Linked DNA regions of Homo sapiens: all the other regions are linked to region 3. The links are contacts of gene promoters, found by promoter capture Hi-C in human tissues and cell types (Jung and others, 2019). All regions are on one chromosome and are shown on one strand. Each heading gives the region's core, a stretch centred on a gene start or on the middle of the fragment in contact. The rest is flanking DNA. Distances are from core to core; before and after follow the strand shown. Region 1 overlaps MTRFR (mitochondrial translation release factor in rescue). Region 2 overlaps EIF2B1 (eukaryotic translation initiation factor 2B subunit alpha). Region 3 holds the start of RILPL2 (Rab interacting lysosomal protein like 2).

The links. The method cuts DNA at HindIII sites, captures the fragments that hold promoters and counts their contacts. A contact is called where the count stands out against the background at its distance.
Region 1: a fragment that was not itself captured here is called in contact with the fragment with the promoter of RILPL2 in region 3 in 1 of the 25 tissues and cell types used here (dorsolateral prefrontal cortex).
Region 2: a contact is called between a fragment that was not itself captured here and the fragment with the promoter of RILPL2 in region 3, in 3 of the 25 tissues and cell types used here (IMR-90 fibroblasts, aorta and dorsolateral prefrontal cortex).

The regions. Positions count from the first base shown.
Region 1 is chr12:123,236,388-123,240,249 of GRCh38, reverse strand. All of the region lies in intron 1 of MTRFR (mitochondrial translation release factor in rescue), which reads right to left. It also overlaps a transcript of MPHOSPH9 not described here. Among named protein-coding and RNA genes, the nearest start is that of MTRFR, 4.9 kb to the right of the region's middle. RefSeq lists enhancers at 1,876-2,075, 2,686-2,735. The HindIII fragment of the contact is 6,290 bases long and covers 1-3,862 here.
Region 2 is chr12:123,621,246-123,624,919 of GRCh38, reverse strand. EIF2B1 (eukaryotic translation initiation factor 2B subunit alpha) reads left to right here. Exons shown (of 9, transcript NM_001414.4): 7 at 58-133; 8 at 2,159-2,284; 9 at 3,000-3,674. The coding sequence ends at 3,164. Among named protein-coding and RNA genes, the nearest start is that of SNORA9B, 6.4 kb to the right of the region's middle. RefSeq lists an enhancer at 2,344-3,543. The HindIII fragment of the contact is 7,939 bases long and covers 1-3,674 here.
Region 3 is chr12:123,434,829-123,438,797 of GRCh38, reverse strand. It overlaps RILPL2 (Rab interacting lysosomal protein like 2), which reads left to right and starts at 2,114. Exons shown (of 4, transcript NM_145058.3): 1 at 2,114-2,716. The coding sequence starts at 2,378. RefSeq lists a silencer at 2,108-2,367 and an enhancer at 2,209-3,138. The HindIII fragment of the contact is 18,752 bases long and covers 1-3,969 here.

The sequences.
Region 1 (3,862 bases), core at 922-3,421, 200 kb after region 3:
GGTGCCCACCACCACGTCCAGCTTTTTTTTTTTTTTTTTTGTATTTTTAATAGAGATGGGGTTTCACCGTGTTGGTCAGGGTGGTCTCGAACTCCTGACCTCAGATGATCCACAAGCCTCAGCCTCTCAAAGTGCTGGGATTACAGGCGTGAGCCACCTTGCCCGGCGAGGCTCTGCATTTCTAACCAGCTCACAGATGAGGCTGTTGCTGCTGGTCCAGGCCCCACACCCCATGGCAAGGCTAAGTGCTTTAAACAAGGATGCTGCTAGTATTCTGGCACATAGGACTGTTCATTGCTTGATGAGATCCCTGGGATCATGATGGCAATGGTGAAGGCTGAGAAGGTGTAAAGGAGTGTGATGGGAGGGCAAGGAAATCGTCCCAAGAAAAGAATTAAACAAATACTGATTTGAGCTAGCAGAGATGGTGACATGGAAACAAGGAGATTGGGAAACTGGGTCATCTGGGGGAAAAAAAAATAAAAAATGTCACCTCTGTTGTGTTAATGTTCTAGAACAGTGGTGTCCAATAGAAACTAACGCTACTGGGCTGGGCGCGGTAGCTCACGCCTGTAATCCCAGCACTTTGGGAGGCCAAGGCGGGCAGATCATGAGGTCAGGAGATCGAGACCATCCTGGCTAACACGGTGAAACCCCGTCTCTACTAAAAATACAAAAAATTAGCTGGGCATGGTTGCACGTAGCTGTAGTCCCAGCTACTTGGGAGGCTGAGGCAGGAGAATCGCTTGAACCTGGGAGGTGGAGATTGCGGTGAGCCGAGATTGCGCCATTGCACTCTAGCCTGGCAACAGAGTGAAACTCTGTCTCAAAAAAACAAACAAAAAAACAAAACTAATGCTACCCACATGTGAAATTCTAAATTTTCTAGTAGTTACATTAGAAATAATAAATGATGAAATGTATATTTAACCCAATATATCAAAACTATTATTTCCACACGTGATCAACGTTTTATTATTTTGAGACCAGTCTGGCTCCATCACCCAGGCTGGAGTATAGTGGCGCCATCTCAGCTCACTGCAATCTCTGCCTTCCAGGCTCTAGCCATCCTCTCACCGCAGCCTCCTGAGTAGTTGGAACTACAGGCATGTACCAGCATGCCTGGCTAATTTTTGGATTTTTTGTAGAGACGGGGTTTCACCATGTTGCTGTGGCTGGTCTGGAACTCAAACTCAAGCGATCTGCCTTCCTCAGCCTTCCAAAGTGCTGGGATTACAGGTGTGAGCCACTGCACCCAGCCAATATTTTAAAATTGAGATATTCTTTTTTCCCCCTAAATATGAAGGCTTCAAATTCTAGGTTATGGTCATACTTACAGAACATCTCAGTTTGGGCCACATGTGCTGGTGGCTACTTTATGGGACAATGTAGCTCTAGAATCTTGCTACCCAAAGTGTGGTCCACATAGTGGCAAAAGCACCACGTGGAGGATGGTTAGGAATGAAGATTTCAGGCCCTGCTCTGACCTACCAAATGAGAACCTGCAGCCTAACAAGATCCTCAGGTGATGCAGAGGCACATAAAATTTGACAAGCATTGTTCCAGAACACAGGAATCAGCAAGTTCTTCTGATTGCTAGGACAGACACTTTTAAAAGCTTTTCTTTTTCTTTTCTAAAAAAGTAGAGATGGGGTTTCATCATGTTGCCCAGTCTGGTCTCAAACTCCTGAGCTCAAGCAATCTGCCTGCCTCGGTCTCAAAAAGTGCTGGGATTACAGTCATGAGCCACCATGCCCAGCATGTTTCTTATTTATATGACATTTAAGAAACTGAGACAAGAATTCAGGAGGGCTGATTACCTGCTTATTCCGTCTTGTCTCTTCCTTAAGAAGGAGATGAAACCATAGGTCTCAAAACAATGACCTAATAAACAGTTAAGGGCCAAACAACATTGAGCTTAAACAGACCAACGTGCAATGTTGCTGCTTTGAAAAGACAAAACGGCCAGCAGGTGGTGCCAGAAGCTAAGTGAGGGGAAAATGATTTTCTGACAAATGCTTAATAATAATAATTCATGTTTCAAAAATGTGTTTTGGGGCTGGGTGTGGTGGCTCATGACTGTAATCCTAGCACTTTGGGAGGCTGAGGGTGGATTGCCTGAGCTCAGGAGTTCCAGACCAGCCTGGGCAACATGGTGAAACCCCCTCTGTACTAAAATACAAAAAATTAGCCAGATGTGGTGGTGTGCACCTGTAGTCCCGGCTACTCGGGAGGCTGCAGCAGAATAATGGATTCAACCTGGCAGGCAGAGGTTGCAGTGGGCTGAGGTCACACCACTGCACTCCACCCTGGGTGACAGAGTGAGACTCCGTCTCAAAAAAAAAAAAAGTGTTTTGGTGCTGTCTGTAAAATGGTAGTTAAAAAGAAAGTAGCATTTCCCTGTCTTTCACATCCTCCTGTTAGCTCATCCTCCTGCTGTAGGTATCTGAAATCCTTAAGGGCTGAAACCTCTCAAATGGAACCAGTGAGTATTGCTGGTAAGGCTTGAAACAGACCATGCCATTTCCTAGACTTGGGGTTTTACGCTGAAGATAAAGCACCCTTCACTCACAGTAAGTGTTTGCAGATAGTTATTTCTCAAACAAGGAAAGCATAATAGATTGAGCAGGAAATGCAGAGCTGTAGTCTTTGATTTTGGCGGACGGGAGGAAAAAGAGACTACTCTAGGTCTGGTCTAAATTTAACAGGCTTAATGCTTGAATGCTTAATGCTGCAGAATTCAAGAGATAGCTAATGAAGTAAAGAGGAAAACATTCACTTCACACAATCCCAACATCTCGTTCATTTTTATTTTATTTTTGAGCCGGAGTTTCGCTTGTCACCCAGGCTAGAGTGCAATGGCGTGATCTTGGCTCACTGCAACCTCTGCCTCCCAGGTTCAAGTGATTCTCCTGTCTCAGCCTCCTGAGTATCTGGGACTACAGGCACCTGCCATCATGCCCGGCTAATTTTGTATTTTTAGTAGAGGCGGGGGTTTCTCCTGACATCAGGTGATGCGCCTGCCTTGGCCTCCCGTAGTCCTGGGATTACAGGCGTGAGCCACAGTGCCTGGCCCCGTTTATTTTTTTTTAAGCAGAAAACTTTGAATCCACAGAATTACACCTGTGCTATTTGTGTGTATCATATTTCTTCTATTTTTTTTTTTAGCCGGAGTCTCACTCTGTCACCCAGCCTGGACTGCAGTGGCGCAATCTCAGCTCACTGCAACCTCCGCCTTCCAGATTCAAGCAATTCTCCTGCCTCAGCCTCCCAAGTAGCTGGGACTACAGGCGCATGCCGCCACGCTTGGCTAATTTTTTGTATTTTTAGTAGAGATGGGGATTCACCGTGTTTCTCAGGCTGGTGTTGAACTCCTGACCTCAGGCGATCCGCCCGCCTCGGCCTCTCAAAGTGCTGAGAGGTGTGAGCCACCGCGCCCGGCCCCATATTTGTTCTATTTATGGCATCTAACGGGAACTTTATAATTTATCAACTACACTATTAAAACAGAAACACATTAAAAAAGCAGGAATAACAACACTGTATATTTTCTTCCAAAAGTCTCAAAGCCTATATTTCTATTAACGATGCCTTGTGTTTGTTTAGGACTTAAACATATACAAACCAAAGCAGTTTCTTCTTCTTTTTTTTTTTTTTGAGACAGGGTCTCCCTCTGTCACCCAAGTGGAGTGCAGTGGCATAAAAATGGCTCAGTGCAGCCTTGACCTCCTGGGCTCAAGCAAGCTTCTTTGCCTCAGCCTCCCCAGTAGCTGGGGCCACAGGTGTGTACCACCATACCTGGCTAGTTTTTAATTTTTTGTAGAGATGGGGTCTTGCCATGTTGCCCAGGCAGGTCTCGAAC
Region 2 (3,674 bases), core at 917-3,416, 190 kb before region 3:
TGATGCTACTCGTTAGAGCCAAGAAAATAAAGCATGAAAAGCTTTTTTTCCCCTTAGCTACATCATGGAGAAAGCAGATCTTGTCATAGTTGGTGCTGAAGGAGTTGTTGAAAACGGAGGAATTATTAACAAGGTAAGAGCATCAGTTCTCCCCAGTTCCCTGCTCAAGACTTGGAGGTGTCTTGCTGACCTAGGACACCACAGCAGTGTTGATTATGGTTCCTTCTAATCCTGCTTCACTTCAGGACTTCATCATGGTATTGAGTTGTTGCCCATTTCCCGTAAGTCATAGCAATGGGCAGTCCAGTTTCAGTCAAATCTTTTTTAGATTGATCTACATAAATGAAGACAATGTAATTTGGTCAGGTGTGATGCCTTATACCTGTAATCCTAGCAATTTGAGAGGCCAGGGTGGGAGGATCACTTGAGGCCTTGAGTTCAAGACCAGCCTGGGCAACATAGTGAAACCCTGTCTCTACAAAAAATTAGAAAAATTAGCTGGGCGTGGTGGTGCTTGCCTGTAGTTCCAGCTGCCCAGGAAGCTGAGGCAGGAGTATCACGTGAGCCCAGGAATTTGAGGTTGCAGTAAGTTATGATCACACTACTGCATTCCAGCCTGGGCGATGGTGAGACCCTGTCTCAGTAAAAAAAAAAAAAAAAAAAGTGTAATTTATATTTATACAAAATTGGCTTGAATTGGAATTGGGGTTTGTCTGGTTTTTGCTTTATTTATGTGTATATGTATGTTTTATTTATGCATATATATACACACACATAATATATATACACAAATATTTTTAAAATATTATTTATATATTTACATATAAAGTATGTATGTATAAAATACGTGTATTTATATATAAATATTATATATATTTTAAAATAGAGACACATTCACTCTGTTGCCCAGGCTGTAGTGTAGTACAGTGATCATAGCTTACTGCAGTCTTGAACTCCTAGCCTGAAGCAATCTTTCCACTTCCCAAAGTGCTAGGATTACAGGCATGAGCCACTGTGGCCGGCCTGTCATTTGTTTTCATTTTAATTGAGCACATTTGACCTCAATTTATTACAATCTCTCTCTCCATTATTTAATTTAGAAAAGCTTCATGAAAGCTTTTTTTAGTTAAAATATATGTAACATAAGGCCGGGCGTAGTAGCTCACGCCTATAATCCCAGCACTTTGGGAGGCTGAGGCAGGTAGATCATCTGAGGTCAGGAGTTCGAGACCAGCCTGGCCAACATGGTGAAACCCCATATCTACTAAAAATACAAAAAATTAGCTGGGCATGGTGGCGGGTGCCTGTAATCCCAGCTACTTGGCAGGCTGACGCAGGAGAATCGCTTGAACCTGGGAGGCGGAGGTCTGCAGGCAGAGTGTTGAGTCACATGGTAACTATATATTTAACTTTCAGAAACTAATGATTTTCCACAGCAGCTGCACTACTTTACATTCCCACTAGCAAAGCACAAAGGTTCCAATTTCTCTACATCCTTGCCAACACTTGTTTTTTTAAATTTTTTTATTTTTTGAGATGGAGTTTCACTCTTGCTGTCCAGGCTGGAGTGCAATGGCACAGTCTTGGCTCACTGCAACCTCCAGTGCCCGGGTTCAAGCGAGTCTCCTGCTTCAGCCTCCCTAGTAGCTGGGATTACAGGCACCCCCCATCCCACCATGCCCAGCTAATTTTTTGTATTTTTAGTAGAGATGGGGTTTCCCTATATTGGCCAGCTGGTCTCAAACTCCTGACCTCAGGTGATCCACCCACCTCGGCCTCCCAAAGTGCTGGGATTACAGGCGTGAGCCACCACATCCAGCCTCTAGTGGCTGTTTCTATATCCTTTGAGAAACATTTATTTTTTTGATTCCAAAGTCAGAATTAGATATATCTAATATATGTATTAGATATATGTATATCTATATTATATACATAACTTTCTATTGCTGTTTTTTAATTGTTCCTTTATTGTAATTGAGACGAGGTCTCACCGTGTTGCCTAGGCTGGTCCCAAACTCATGGGTTCAGGTGATCCACCCACCTCGGCCTCCCAAAATGCTGGAATACAGGCATGCACCACTGTGCCCGGCCCGCTTTTCTGTGGCTTCTACTTCAGATGCACTCTAGAGCTCATCCATTCCATTTTCTGCCTTCCCAGATTGGAACCAACCAGATGGCTGTGTGTGCCAAAGCACAGAACAAACCTTTCTATGTGGTTGCAGAAAGTTTCAAGTTTGTCCGGCTCTTTCCACTAAACCAGCAAGACGTCCCAGATAAGTTTAAGGCAAGAGTTTTACATATTTGAAGGGGTACTAAAGTCTAAACAGAAACCTTTGGAAATTGTAGTCCTAAGAATGTTCCAGTAATTTTTTCACTTCCTATTGCTACTTTCCCCAACACTTGGAATACAAAGATAAATTGGTGATTGGACTCACACATTTGTCCCTAGAACTTCAGTCTTTCAGTCTCTTTAAGTAGCACCATAGATGGGTGGAGAGGAAGCCCGAAGCTGGTGGGTAAGTCCCAGCTTTGGGCTTAACTGAGCTCAGCTCCCATCACCACAACTTACAAACTGTGCGAGTTGAGGCAAGTCCTTTCATTTCAACCTCTGAACCGGTTTTCTTGTCTGTAAAATGGCATAGCAGTATCTGACAGGGTCATGAGGATTCTAAGATAATCTTAGCACAGTCCCTGGCACGCTGCAAGCTCTCTATTGTGACTCTCGATCTTCCCTTGAGAGGTCTGGAGAAGTTAATCCGGCATGAGAATGAGGGGACATGGGATTTAAGTTTGTTACACTACAGCTCTCAGCCAGCACACTGCCATGATCTGGCTCATGGCCACAACTCTGCCCTCGTCTCTAGTGTCCTGCATAGCTTAGTTTCTCCCATTTTCAGAGAGCAGTCTCAGGAAGTAGCACACTGATCACTCACACCAAGGCCCTACCAGGTCAGAGCACTAAATATTCAGTGCCGACTAATGTGTACTTCTCTCCTCAGTATAAGGCAGACACTCTCAAGGTCGCGCAGACTGGACAAGACCTCAAAGAGGAGCATCCGTGGGTCGACTACACTGCCCCTTCCTTAATCACTCTGCTGTTTACAGACCTGGGCGTGCTGACACCCTCAGCAGTCAGCGATGAGCTCATCAAGCTCTATCTGTAACCTGTGAGCCCTTTCCTGCCAAGGTGCAGCTTACGTAGTTGAGGCAGGGTGAGTAGCTGCTTGACACCCCAGTGAGTCAGGCCAAAACTGAGATGTGTTTAATGAAGATTTATGGAGTAAGGACTTAAAATCATACATCTTGGAGAACCTTTCTTACTCATTTCAGTCCCATCTAAAAATGTGTCAGCTATTCTAAATCCCAACTTAAATTGTTCTTACGGTTTCTAGAAACTTTCCTTTTCAGTTTCCAGAAATACAAGTTAGATAATTGGCTACTTAACTGATGAAAGATGAGCCCAAGTCCACCTGTCTTCATCCTCCCCTGCACTCCAGACTGATCTGCCTAAAGCACGCGAGATGCAGGCGAAAAGCAGCCACACCCCTCTGCCACAAATGACCAACAGCTGGTCAGGACGTTACACGCGGTGCCTTGTAAGAGGCAAGAAACACTTGCTGAATCTGCATCTGGCTTCCAGTGGTAAGCACATTCCTCAGCAGGATCAAGCCAAA
Region 3 (3,969 bases), core at 865-3,364:
GGGTTTCACCGTGTTAGCCAGGATGGTCTCGGTCTCCTGACCTCGTGATCCGCCCATCTCGGCCTGACTTTTTTATTTTATAAAAGTAAAATAGGCCAGGCAGGGTGGCTTACGCCCGTAATCCTAGCACTTTGGGAGGCCCAGGTGGGAGGATTGCCCGAGCTCAGGAGTTCGCGACCAGCCTGGGCAGCACAGTGAAACCCCATCTCTACTAAAATACAAAAAATTAGCCAGGCGGGGCGGCATGCGCCTGTGGTCCCAGCTACTGGGGAGGCTGAGGTAGAAGAATTGCTTTAACCAGGGAGGCGGAGGTTGCGGTGAGCCGAGATCATGCCACTGAGCTCCAGCCTGGGCAACAGAGCAAGATTCTGTCTCTAAATAAATAAATAAACAAATAAATAAAATAAAATAAAATAAAATAAAAAGAAACGACCCTCTGAAAATAGTGTGTTTTGTTAATTTGCTTTGCTTTTGTTGGTTGGTTTAATCTATGTACATTCTCCATTGAGATTCTAGTACCTCAGTGTGGAGAAAATGGATACACCTATCACAAGGAAAGCTGCCAATACATTCCTGGGAAAGACAAGCCCCGTTGCTGAGCTTTCTGCCTGAGACTATCACAAACCTCCAGTGAAACCTAAAATAACTTGAGATTTGTTGTGCCTTTTTTTTTGAGACATGATCTTACTCTGTCACCATGGTCCCACTCTGTCACAGGCACCACTCTGTGGTGAGATCTTGGCTCACTGCAGCCTCAACATCCCGGGCTCAAGTGGTCCTCCCACCTCAGCCTCCCGAGTACCTGCCACTACAGGCATGAACCACTGTGTCCAGCTACTTTTGTTTACTTTTTGTAGAGACAGGGTCTCACTATGATGCCCAAGCTAGTCTCAAATTCCTGGGCTCAAGCAATCCTCCTGCGTCAGCCTCCTGAAGTGTTGAGATTAAGGCATGAGCCACAGCGAATGACTCAAGTTTCTACGCCACTCTGCTAATATTCTCAGTAATATGGATTCCGCATATGTGTCGAATGCTTTGTGATTTTCAGACAGGGGTTTCTCTCTTGTTAATTACTCCTCCTTCTCTCACCCAAGTAGCAAGGTGTCTCCAACACCAGCAATTCCTCCCTAGCGCTGTGGAAGAAAGAATGAAGGGGCCGGGCGCGGTGGCTCACGCCTGTAATCCCAGCACTTTGGGAGGCCGAGGCAGGTGGATCACGAGGTCAGGAGATCGAGACCATCCTGGCGAACATGGTGAAACCCCGTCTCTACTAAAAATACAAAAAAATTAGCCGGGCGTGGTGGCGCGTGCCTGTAGTCCCAGCTACTCGGGAGGCTGAGGCAGGAGAATGGCGTGAACCTGGGAGGCGGAGCTTGCAGCAAGCCGAGATCGCGCCACTGCACTCCAGCCTGGGCGACACAGGGAGACTCCGTCTCAAAAAAAAAAAGAAAGAAAGAAAGAAAGAAAGAATGAAGGATTGCAGTCACGTATGTGAGTGCTTCCTAAGTGCTTGAGGTGTCGCACACATGATCTCATAAGCTCATGTTCCTCGCAGCAACCCTGCCACCTGGGTCCCGCTATTGTCCCCATTTTACAGAGGAGGAGACTGAGGCTCGGAGACGTTAAGTAACTTGCCAAGGTGACAGCGCTGGTTACGTGGAGGAGCCGAGGACCCAGCGAAGTGAGCAGGGCAGACATTCTCCATTTTATTGAGAGTCACAGCGAAGTCGGACGCCCCAGGCCCTAGTGACAATTTGCCTGGGAGTTTTCCAGATCCTCAAGCCTCGGGGACTCTGTCGCGCTGCCCCCAGCAGCTGCTTTCTGTTTGGCCGCAGGCTCCAGAAAACACCCTCAAAGAGACACCCGGATCTTCCATCACCTACGATGCAAATTCTACGGCTGGAAAGCACGAGGGTGGAAAGGAAAAAGTTGCGTTCTTTTTACCCCGCTCTGGATTGCACGGTGGAAACTCCGTCTCCACGGAAACGCACCTCCTGGCAGCGGTCGCCAGGGGCGGGGCTCAGGGCGGCTCCTCCCCGGGGCTGCAACTGTTCCCAGGCTGGGGCGATTGCCGTCACCCCTGAACTTCCCCGTTCCTCTTCTCGGCTGCCTCCTTTTCCGTTGTCCCTTCGCGCCCCAAACCACATCCTGGAGCGCACTCTCCAGCGTGGCTGGCAGCGGGGACGGTGCGCCGGGGCGCAGGCCCAAGAGTCGCGTGCGCGGCCCCTTGCACCATCCCCCCGGGCCCACCCCCGGGCCGCGCTGATTGGGCAGGTAGGGACTCTGCCCAGCGGAAAGTTTTGGGTGCCGGGAGGAAGTCTAACCTTTGGGAGACTCCAAGACAGCAGCTCCGAGGTCGGCGGGGGTCTGGGTGGCCATGGAGGAGCCCCCTGTGCGAGAAGAGGAAGAGGAGGAGGGAGAGGAGGACGAGGAGAGGGACGAGGTTGGGCCCGAGGGGGCGCTGGGCAAGAGCCCCTTCCAGCTGACCGCCGAGGACGTGTATGACATCTCCTACCTGTTGGGCCGCGAGCTTATGGCCCTGGGCAGCGACCCCCGGGTGACGCAGCTGCAGTTCAAAGTCGTCCGCGTCCTGGAGATGCTGGAGGCGCTGGTGAATGAGGGCAGCCTGGCGCTGGAGGAGCTGAAGATGGAGAGGGACCACCTCAGGAAGGAGGTGGAGGGGCTGCGGAGACAGAGCCCTCCGGCCAGCGGGGAGGTGAGTGTGGGAGCGAGGGTTCCGGGCCCACGGCGCCTGCGGGGCGTAGGAGGGCACCTACTGGCAGGGAGACGCCTTCCTTTTCTTTTCTCTTCTCTTTTCTCTTTTTTCTTTTTTTAAGAGATGGGATCTCGCTGTGTTGCCCAGGCTGGTCTCAAACTCCTGGCTCCAAGTGATCCCCCAGCCTCAGCCTCCTAGAGTGCTGGGTTTACAGGTGTGAGCCACCCTGCCTGGCCAGAATCTGTATTTCTAACGAGTTCGCAGTTAATGCTGATGCTATTGGCCCAGGGTCCACAGTTTGAGAACCTTTGACCTAGAGCAAGAAACACTTTTTTTTTCTTTTGACACAGGGTCCTGCTCTATCTCCCAGGCTAGAGTGCAGTGGTGCAAACACGGCTCACTACAGCCTTGGCCTCCTAGGCTCAAGCAATTCTCCTGCCTTGCCCTTCCAAGTAGCTGGGAGTACAGGCATGTGCCACCATGCCTGGCTAACTTTTTTGATGTTTTGTAGAGATGGGGGTCTCACCGTTACCCAGGCTGGTCTCAAACTCCTAAGCTCAAGGAATCCTCCCACCTTGGCCTCCCAAAGTGCTGGGCTTGTGGATGTGAGCCACCACACTTGGACAAGAAACACATTTTACCTAAAGAGAAATTAGTGCATATGACCACAAAAAGACATAGACAAGAAGATTCAGAGCAGCTTTAGTCTCAGCTGCCAAACTGGAAACACTCTAAATGCAACCCAATTGAGTTTTGAAATTGTGATATATGGAATACTATGCAACAGAGAAAAAGAACGGGGTGCTGATACACACAGCAGTGTGAATGAATCTCACAGATGTAACATTGAGAGAAAGAAGCCAGGCACTAAAGAGAAACTACTGTAGATTTTTTTTTTTTTTGAGTCAGAATCTTGCTCTGTTGCTCAGACTGTAGTGCAGTGGCGTGACCTCGACTCACTGCAACCTCCACCTCCTGGATTCAAGCGATTCTCCTGCCTCAGCCTCCTGAGCAGCTGGGATTGCAAGCGTGTGCCACCACGCGTGGCTATTTTTTTTTTTTCTTTTTTGGTAGAGACGGGGTTTCACCATGTTGGCCAGGCTGGTCTCAAACTCCTGGCCTCAAGTGACCCACCCACCTCAGCCTTCCAAAGTGCTGGGATTACAGGCCTGAGCCACAGCACCCAGCCCTACTGTACATTTAAATAAAATTCATGAACAGGCAAAATAATTTATAGTTATAGAAGGCAAACT